Regions from separate parts of the Homo sapiens genome. Here region 1 is linked to region 2. Evidence: promoter capture Hi-C in human tissues and cell types (Jung and others, 2019). All regions are on one chromosome and are shown on one strand. Each heading gives the region's core, a stretch centred on a gene start or on the middle of the fragment in contact. The rest is flanking DNA. Distances are from core to core; before and after follow the strand shown. Region 1 holds the start of GSDMA (gasdermin A). Region 2 holds the start of MSL1 (MSL complex subunit 1).

What was found. Contacts are between HindIII fragments. The study calls those that stand out against the background at their distance.
Region 1: a contact is called between a fragment that was not itself captured here and the fragment with the promoter of MSL1 in region 2, in 1 of the 25 tissues and cell types used here (hippocampus).

Annotation. Positions count from the first base shown.
Region 1 is chr17:39,958,364-39,963,426 of GRCh38, reverse strand. It overlaps GSDMA (gasdermin A), which reads right to left and starts at 423. Exons shown (of 12, transcript NM_178171.5): 1 at 342-423. The HindIII fragment of the contact is 3,350 bases long and covers 1,488-4,837 here.
Region 2 is chr17:40,120,155-40,125,147 of GRCh38, reverse strand. MSL1 (MSL complex subunit 1) reads right to left here and starts at 3,177. Exons shown (of 9, transcript NM_001365919.1): 1 at 1,768-3,177. The coding sequence starts at 2,535. LOC124904001 (a long non-coding RNA gene) reads left to right here and starts at 3,308. Exons shown (of 2, transcript XR_007065752.1): 1 at 3,308-3,364; 2 at 3,735-4,619. RefSeq lists an enhancer at 1,698-2,336 and silencers at 2,037-2,486, 2,537-2,586, 2,687-2,826, 2,887-3,096, 3,137-3,336 and 1 more. The HindIII fragment of the contact is 12,972 bases long and covers 633-4,993 here.

The DNA of each region.
Region 1 (5,063 bases), core at 1,913-4,412, 160 kb after region 2:
CTTCACAGCAGCAGGGGGGGCAGGAAGCACGGCACAGATGCGTGGGGCTGTTCTGCCAGCTTCAAGGTGCTTTTTTTTTTTCACCCTCATTCCTGGGAGGGCCAGGATGGGGCAGGACAACCTCCTGGTGCTACCTGGGTGCACCTGGGAAGGGCTTGGGCAACAGCAGCCTCCTCTTCACCAGAGAGATGTCCACAGGCCTGCCTCTCCCTTCCCTCCCCAAGGCCTATCGGGATACTTATCCCACTGGACTCTAGGGGAGTTCCATTCCCTTCTTGGTCCACCCATCTTCCTGTGTCCTCAGAGCACCCCTGCCTTCCCTGCTGTCATCAAGTTCTTACCTGGGAGCGGGGCTGGGTCCTATCCAGCAGCTGGGTCTGGGGTGAGGGCCTAGGGCTCACTGGGTCTGTAGGTTGAGAGGATGACCATCCCTTGCCAGGACAGGCTGCTTTATGCAGGGACAGAGGCTTCCGGGGACCCCGCCTGCCCTAGTGACCCCACCCCCCTCCCACTCCACTTCCTGGAGAACAACATCAACCTGTTCCACGTGTGCCCTGGCCTCCTGAGGGCTGAGGGGGTGGATAGGGAGCTGCCAGGCAGGTGCCAGCGTGGGTGGGGGTAGCCAAGGCTGATAGAGAGGTGGCAGCTGGAGGTTGGCTTGTGGATTGAGAGGAGAGGAAGGCAGGTGCCTTTGGGAGGGGTGCAGAGGGAGGCAGTGGGAGTGTGTGTGTGTGTGTGTGTGTGTGTGTGACCAGGGATGGCATCTCTGTTCTGTCATCATCACCGTCATTGGGGAGCATCTCGGATTCATGGTGGGGGTCTGCGGGTGTCCTGGGATAGGGATTCCTGTATGTCCACACATTCCAGTAGAGAGCAGAGCATCTGCAGTGCCGCCCTCCATCCTGGGCTTGTCAGCCTGTGTGTATTGCTGCCTTACTCCATTTGTTTTAGCTACATAGACATAACTCTGATACCGCTAGAAGCAGATGTCTGAGTAGGCAGAGATGGAGTTAGACCAAATGGGTTTGTGTTGTTTAGTGTTCAGCGTCTCTGCTTCTCACAGAATATTGTATACACACATCAGCATATCCGTAGGCAGGGGCACGGCGATATTCATGGAAAAGCCCAGGAGGCTTGTCGTGGGCTTTCAGATGTTGCACCAGAGGTCACTCAGGTCCTCCTCTTAGCTTAAATCTCTGCCTAGAAGGAATTTTAAAGGAATTTCAAATGTTGCCTACATGGTCACATTGCTAGAGGACAGAATAAGGGACTTACAAGCAAGGCCCTTACAGTGTTGGGCCATGTGGCCATGCATATGTGCAGGTATAACCTGACACAGCAGAGCCTTCCTGCTCCCACCTTGAGGCTCTTCTTAGTACCACTCATGGAAAAAGAAACGCAACCCTGAATGCTGTGAAGAGTAAATTCCATCTTTTTTTTTTTTGAGAAGGAGTCTCGCTCTGTCCTCCAGGCTGGAGTGCAGCGGTGCAATCTCAGCTCACTGCAACTTCCACCTCCCGGGTTCAAACAGTTCTCTGCCTCAGCCTCCCGAGTAGCTGGGATTACAGGCATGCACCACCATGCCTGGCTAGTTTTGTATTTTTATTAGAGACGGGGTTTCGCCATGTTGGCCAGGAGGGTCTTGATCTCCTGACCTCATGATCCGCCCGCCTCGGCCTCCCAAAGTGCTGGGATTACAGGATGAGCCACTGCGCCCGGCCAATTCCATCTTTACTGAACGTTTCCTTGAGGGGCTGATGGTGAATGAGACTAGACCATTCCACACTTAGGAAAACTCCCTAAAATAGTCATTACTCCACTTGTGTCCCCAAAGTCTCATTCAATATGACAGATGCTCCCAAATATCTCTTCTCTATGTCTTGAAACAGAACAAAGCCAAGCCTTGCCTCTGCCTCTCTGGTCCCTGCTCACTCTCTTTTTCTTTACATACTTTCCCATCCACCCTACACCTTTTTGAGACGGGGCCTCGCTCTGTCACCCAGGCTGGAGCGCAGTGGCTTGATCATGGCTCACTGCAGCCACCCAATACTTCATCCTCCTTCCACAGCTCCAGCCATTCCAGCAATCAAATGTCCCTTCTCCTTAGGAGAGGCAGAGGTGGGGGCTTGAGTGTGTGGGAAGGTTGTCGTTAGGCTGGGTGCGGTGGTTCACGGCTGTAATTCCAGCACTTTGGGAGGCAGAAGTGGGTGGATCACCTGAGGTCAGGAGTTCGAGACCAGCCTGGCCAACATGAGGGAAACACCATCTCTACCAAAACTGCAAAAATTAGCTGGGCGTGGTGGCAGGTGCCTGTAATCCCAGCTACTTGGGAGGCTGAGGCAGGAGAATCACTTGAACCCGGGAGGTGGAGGTTGCAGTGAGCCGAGATCGTGCCACTGCATGCCAGGCTGGGCGACAGAGCAAGACTCCGATTCAAAAAAAAAAAAAAGAAAAAGAAAAAAAAGGTTGTCGTTAGTCATCTGGTCCCTATCACAAGCACATATTTACATAGAAACCTGCTGTGTGTGTTATAGTCCTTTCATCTCTGTCTGTTTTCCTGGATTTCCACCTCTTCCTCCTTGTATCTCTCAGCCACTACACTGACGTGATGCCTGCATTTCAGCATATAGTCCTGAGGCTGTGCAGTCTCCTTATGCCTTAATCAGCTCCAGGGAAGATAGTCCCACTCCCACCCTCTCACCAGCCTAGCATTGCCTCGGTCAGACTTTTGGGAGTTTCTTCCCAGTGACTACCCTTCTCCCACTGGCTGCAGGCCAAGGTTCCTAGTTTAGTGGATTCTGCAAAGATCTGGAGAACAGTGGCATCTAAAAGCCACACGTGGCTCTGCTCTCCCCAAGGACCTGCAAAGCCCATCTAGTCAGCTTTCTCTCCTCTGACCGGGAAGTCTTGCTTCTCTCATTTCTCCCGCCTTCAGTCTGATCTCAGAGCACTCTGCCGGGCCTGTCCTCACACTCCTGGTGTCGTCCCGACCCTGCCTGCACCACATTGTCCCATTCCCTCAGACTGCCTACTGGTATTCCAAGCAGGGGGCTTGGTGAGTTCAAGGCAGGGAGGAGATATATGGGCTTGTGGGGTCAGCCAGGTTGAAGTTCTTGTGCTTTTGGAATGAAAATATCCACATTTAGGCTTGTCTTGGTGGTGCTCCTTCCTCCCATCCAGGGTGCCCTGCCTCTTTTTCTTTCTTTTCTTTTTTTTTTTTTTGAGATGGAGCCTCACTCTGTCTCCCAGGCTGGAGGGCAGTGGTGTAATCTCGGCTCACTGCAACCTCCGCCTCCTGGGTTCAAGCAATTCTCCTACCTCAGCCTCCCGAGTAGCTGGGTTACAAGCACATGCCACCGCTCCCAACTAATTTTTGTATTTTTAGTAAAGACGGGGTTTCAACCCTGTTCGCCAGGCTGGTCTCGAACTCCTGACCTCAGGTGATCCACCCACCTCGGCCTCTGAAGGTGCTGGGATTACAAGCGTGAGCTACCGTGCCCAGCTGCGTCTTTTTCTTTTCTTTCTTTCTTTCTGTTTTTTTTTTTTTTTGAGACAGGTTCTCACTCTGTTGCCCAGGCTGGAGTGCAGTGGTGCAGTCATGGCTCACTGCAGCCTTGACTTCCTGGGCTAAAGGGATTCTCTCATCTCAGTGCCCGCTCCCTGCTCCCAGTACCTGGAACTATAGGCATGTGTCACCACACCTGGCTTTTTTTTTTTTTTTTTTGAGATGGAGTCTTGCTCTTATCGCCCAGGCTGGAGTGCAATGGCACAATATTGGCTCACTGCAACCTCCGCCTCCCGGGTTCAAGCGATTCTCCTACCTCAGCCTCCAAAATAGCTGGGATTACAGGCACGCACCACCACGCTTGGCTAATTTTTTGTATTTTTAGTAAAGACGGGGTTTCACCATGTTAGCCAGGATGGTCTCGATCTCCTGACCTCGTGATCTGCCCGCCTCGGCCTCCCAAAGTGCTAGGATTACAGGCTTGAGCCACTGCGCCCGGCCATGCCTGGCTCACTTTTTAATTTTTTGTAGAGAAGGGAGTCTCCCTATGTTGCTCAGGCTGATCTTGAACTCCTAGGCTCAAGCAGTCCTCCTGCCTCGGTCTCCCAAAGTGCTGGGGTTACAGGCGTGAGCCACTGCGCCCGGCCTGGGGCAGAATTTAAATTGTACTGGCGGATATTTAAGTTAGACTGCCTTGTAAGGACGCTTCAGGTCAATTAAAAGAGACAATAAGGAAGCAGGACCTGGTCATGCGGTGAGTGCTGCTCAGGCAGGCGGTAAACTTTGCTCTCTACCTCCCTCTGGTGGTCAATTAAGGTAGTGATGGACAATGATCACCTCTGATTTAGAGACCAAGCTTGTGACTATGTAGGGTTGTTAGGAGACAGGGATCAGGAGAGAGAATTGATTTAGGAGAGGAAGCCCCAGGCACCTGCCCCGTGGGACCATTGCTGTCTCTCTGACCCATAGAGTGCACTGCAGACAGACACAGTCATTGGGACAGGGCATTATTTCCTTACTCATTTTCCCTTTTGTTATTGTTTTTGTTGTTGTTTTTTGAGACCGAGCCTCACACTATTGCTGGCTGGAGTGCAGTGGCACAATCTCGGTTCACTGCAACCTCCGCCTCCCAGGTTCAAGTGATTCTCCTGCCTCAGCCTCCCGAGTACCTGGGACTACAGGTGCGCACCACCACACCGGGCTATTTTTTGTGTTTTTAGTAGAGGCAAAGTTTCACCACATTGGCCAGGCTGGTCTCGAACTCCTGGCCTCAAGTGATACACCCACCTTGGCCTCCCAAATTGCTGGGATTACAGGTGTGATCCACTGTGCCTGGCCTCCTTTTTATTATTGTTGATTTCCCCCTCAGCATGGGGTCAGAGAAAACAGAGAAAAGTAGATTATGGGCGTTCATGGAAGTCACAAACTCTGGCCAGAATGGGAAGAAGCTGGCACCCTGCGAGTTGGGAGGGCAAGGAGAATGTTGTAGGATTTGGAGCCTACTTGAAGGGTGCAGGATAACTGGAGCATTTGCAAGAAGTGATCCCTCACATGAACA
Region 2 (4,993 bases), core at 1,928-4,427:
TGAAAACTTTGTGTTAGTTTAGTTTTGAGAAAAGGTGTTGTGCTACTTATACTCTATTACAAGAATTTTATCTGGGTTAGACAGTGATGTTTAACGCTGCCTTCATTACATTCATTGCATAGATTTCAGACAAGGCCAAACAACAACTGGAATAAGTGAAACAAGCTTAAGCAATATTAAGATTGCAATACACAACAGAAGCAGTGAGTACCAAGTTCAGACTGACACTCTATCCTTAACTCACCCCACTTTTCCTGACTAGGAAAGCCTGCAAAGGGGCCATTACCTCAGGAACTGAGCAGAAACCTCCACAATCAGCAGAGAACCCCCCTATCAGCCATACTCTCATTTCATCTCCTTGTATATGTTTTGATTCACAGCCCTTAACCACCATTTGTGGGTGACATTTCCTTGATTTTTTTCTCCTTCACTGGTCCTTCTCTTCCCACTCCCCCCATACAAGGATATGATGTGTTGTAATTACGGTACCATCACACCCCTAGACTGCAGTACAGTCTGAGCAGTGCCACCTCCATGTTGAGTAACTTCCACAAATCAACACCATGAGATATTTTAATGAGACCTGCCCCAGCTCCCAATCCACCTTGCAGAATGCATTCTCCAATAAAACAGCCACCCGATGAGATTCATTTGGAAAGCAAACAAAATGAATAGCCGCTTGCTCCCTTGCTCAGCTCTTAGCGCACACGACGCCAGAGAGAAAGAGGAGAGAGGGAGAGATGAGGACGGCGGGGAGGGAGGGAGAGAGAGAGAGAGAGAAAGGGAAAGAGACAGGGAGGGAGGAAGAGGGAGGGAGAGAGGGAGAGAGAGACTGCTGCAGCCTGAACACAACAATTGTAGAAACCATGTTTATTTTTAGGCAGCTGTAAGGTATGCTAGCACAGTAATACCCCCCACCCCAGCTTCCCTCATATCTGAAGGAATATGTTTTAACGCAGAGATGCCCTTAACTACTGCTGCAGTAAAAACAAGCCTGTGTCGTCCAAGCTCCTCAGAAGTAAAGAAATAATAAACGACTTTCCTACTCCCTAAGATTCTAAAATAAGGATGGGGAGGTCTATTTAATACATTTAATAAGCTTACTTTCCCCTGATGCCCTAAAATCTTCCAGTTTCAAACACCATGCTTATAAAAGGGACCTGGTCAGTGGGTCATGTATTAGAACTCAGGTTCCTATTAAAAGCTGTCTGAAATCAAAGGCAGTGATTCTCTTAATATCATTTAAGAAAACTAAAATAGGATTCCACGTAAATCACCTCTACCCCTGTGCCCACTAAAAGGCCTACTGCCCTCCTATCTAAAGATGCTGCAGCAGTGGTGAAAGCAACAGCTGCTTGCTACAGCCCTCTCCTCCACCGTGCATTTCTAACGCAATAGCTCTTTAATTTAACCCTTCCATAAGGACACAACACCTACACCCCACCCTTTCATTTTTAACCCCTCACAGATCACGTCTTTTTCCACTAAACGTCTTTCCCACACGTCTGGGGCTGTCATTTTAAATTAACCCTTTGGCACCTGAAACCCCTCCCCCTCCCCCTGAGAGGTTGCCCTTTAACCCTTCCCTCCAACCCAACGTGTCTGTGAGCCTGGCTCCCAGAGACCCAGCGCCTAAGATACTCCTTTGCCGGTGGCCAACCTCCTTTACCCCTAACCCGGGGGTGCCTTAACCTCCTACAGCCCCCTTCCCCCGAGCATGCGCACAACTCGCTCCTCGGCCCGAATGCAGATTAACCCCTCCCGTACCGTGTCTCTCTCTGACTTCAGCTCCTCGATCTCCTTTTCCTTGGCCTGCAGCTGCTGCTGCTGCTGTTCGATGAGGTCCAATTGCAGCAGAAGGATCTGTTTGAGGCAGGCGGCCTGACTGGAGGCTCCCGAGCCGCCACCACCCCCGAGAGGGCTCTTCCTCATACTCTTCCATCTGCCCTCGCTGGCCGCCAGGGTCCCGGCGGTGGCGGTGGGCGCGAGGGGTGGCGGCCCGGGCAGAGGTAGTGGTGGGGGTCCCGCCGGGTCCGAGGCGGTGGCAGCGGGGGAGGCCGCCCCACCCTTGTCCCCAGCCCAGGGCGTAGGCTCTTTGGCCGCCGCCACGAGAGAGCCCGTCTGAATGGGCAGCACCGCCTGATACTTGGGCCGGGGGCTGCAGCCGGCTCCGGCTGCGGCAGGCTCCCCCCCAATGCCGGCTTGCTTGGTGGCCGGGGGCGGACAGGGCAAGGGCACCGAACCGCCCCAGCTCTCTTCCTGCTGCCCGGGGGCCGCCCCGGCCGGGAGTAACAAGCCCCGGCCCTTGCCGCCGCAGCCGGCCGGGGAAGGCGCGGGGCTCCCGCCCTGGGAGGAGGCCAGCGGGGGCCCCGGCTCCTTGAGCTTACGGTGCCGGGGGAGGAAGTGGGCTTCGGCCGCCCCAGGCTCGTCCTCGGGCCCGCCCAGCGCCGCAGCCCGCTCGTAGTCCAGTCGCTGCTCAGGATTGCCGCCGGCAGGGGCCGCGGCCGCCTTGAACACCGCGGATCTCATGGTCATAGTGGTCCGGAGCAGCGCCGGGCACCGAGGCGGAGGAGGGGGTGGGGAAGGGGCGAGGTGCGGGGGGTCGAGGACTGAGGGGGGGGAGGGGAGTTTGGCGGGCTCGCCTCAGCAGCGCGGCAGCAGGCCTCCGCTAGCGCGGCTCCTCCGGGGCCCGGGCGCCATCCCGCCGGCGTGCGGAGACGTGGAGGCCGCGGCTGAGGCCCGCCGCCGGCCCATGGGGGCCTCGCCGCCGCCTCTGCTGCCGCCGCCGCCGCCTTCGCCTCAGAGGCAGGAGCTCGCACCCAGCCGCCCCCGAGCTCATCCCCGGAGCTCGCTTCGGCCCCCCCTGGCCCGGCCGGGCCCGCCTCGTCTCCCCACCCCGCACCCCCCCTTCCCCGCCCCGGCCCCCCGCCCCGGAGCTCGCCTCAACCGCCCCGAGCCTCCATTTCCCCCCCCTCCTCCTCAGGAGGGGGTGGAGGGCTGGGTCCGCCCAAAGCCCTCCTACTCCGGGAGAGGGGGTCTGTCGCCTCTCCCGGGGGTCTCCGCGGCTCGGGGTCCCCCTCCCCCACAGTCACCCCCGGCGCCTCAGCGTTTCCCTTTAAAAAAACGGAGCCGCTCGTAGCCGCCACCGCCGCAGCCGCCGCCAACCGGAGGACGCATGCGCGGGGAGGGGAGCGGGCGGGAGTGCACCGGGAGCCGAGAGGAGGGAGGCGGGCCGCGCTATTGTGAAAGGGGCCGCCGCCGCCTCGAGGGGGGCAGGGAGGGGACCGCGGGGGCCGGGGGCCGGCGAGGGGAGGCCGGGGCTGAGGGGCGAGGACCGAGGAGCGCGCGGAGGAGCGGGGTGAAGGTGGGCTGCCGAGGGAGGGGCGAGCCGGGGGAGGGTCTGGAGGGGGAAGAAGGGCGAGGGCGGCCGCGGGAAGAAGGGGAAAGCGGAGGCTCCCCGGGAAAAAAGCGCGAGAGAATGGAGTTGAGAGGAAAGAAGGAGGATACAGGCGGCCAATGTGTGGCCTACGTGGGAGCGCCCCGAGCGCTCCACGTCCCCGGCCTGCGCCGGGCGGCCCCTTCCCCGGGCATCTTGGCAACGCGCCTGGCCCAAGCCGGAGGGGCCCCGCGGCCCCGCACGCCTCCTGGACCAGTCAGGATCCAGGCTCCTCTTTGAGCCCGCGGGTGTTTCATGGGGGTAGAAGTCTAACCCCTCCACCCCCTCTCCTCCCCAGCAGTCCCACGCGGGTATGGGAGAGAATGAAGTTCTTTGTCTCTAAGGGATTCAAACCAGAAACGGAGGGACCTCTGGTTCCCAGAGGGAGGAAAATCCATGATGTCTGCTGCCCAGGGAGCTATTGCCACCGCCTCCTTGGGATGAAGTATTGCCAGCTACCAACAGTTCCTTCCCAACGGCCATCTTCCAGCCTTCTTAAACGACTCCTAGCATCTTCGGGAGGCTCCTGAAGGACTGAAGCAAAGGAAATCTCTGAAGGGATTTAGTCCTTGAAAGGGAGTAGGGATACTTAGGGTGTTCTGTGTTGAGCGCTTCTTCCTATCTCTCCAGCTTCATGTATGTGTGTCTTTATGTCCAAGCAATTGAGCCAACAAGTCCTCAGAATTCCTTGTGAAAAAAACGTTTTTTTTTTTTGAGACGGATTCTCACTCTGTCGCCCAGGCTGGAGTGCAATGGTGAAATTCAGCTCACTGCAACCTCCGCCTCCGGGGTTCAAGCGATTCTCCTGCCTCAGCCTCCCGAGTAGCTGGGATTACAGTCACGCGCCACCACGCCCAGCTAATTTTGTATTTTTAGTAGAGACAGGATTTCTCCTTGGTCAGGCTGGTCTGGAACTCCCGACTTCAGGTGATCCGCCCGCCTCGGCCTCCCAAAGTGGTGGGATTACAGGTGTGAGCCACCGTGCCCAGCCCTGAAATAGTCTTAATTGCTTGTTTTTCTTTTTTGTCTGAGGTGTGCTTTTTAAAATCTCTATGGAGATGGAGAAGACTGACATTCTCTGGCCTGATGTGAAAACCTCTCATTAAAACTGTGTCTGTGCTTTGTGGGCTGAAAGCATGAAACACTGGAAATTTTAAACAAACGTATGTGAATGTGTTAAGAAGCCAAGAGTCCGGCCCTCTTTCACCAGACTGTATGGCCTCAGATCAGCAAGGGAAGTATTGAGCTTAGGGACACCAAGTAATGGAGTGAGCAGGGATGAGAGGGCACATAGAATGTGGTGATCTCTTTCCATGTCAAGGCTTGTGTGTTTGTGGCACTGGGGTCTTGCTGTGTCCCCAAGGCTAGAGTACAGTGGCACAATTATGGTTCACTGCAGCCTCAACCTCCAGGGCTCAAGTGATCCTCCCACCTCAGTCTCCTAAGTAGCTGGGACAACAGGCTTGGGCTGCCACACCTGGCTAACTTTTTATTTTTTTGTAGAGACGGGCCTTTGTAATACCAGCCTTTGTTGCCCAGGCTGGTATTGAACTCGCT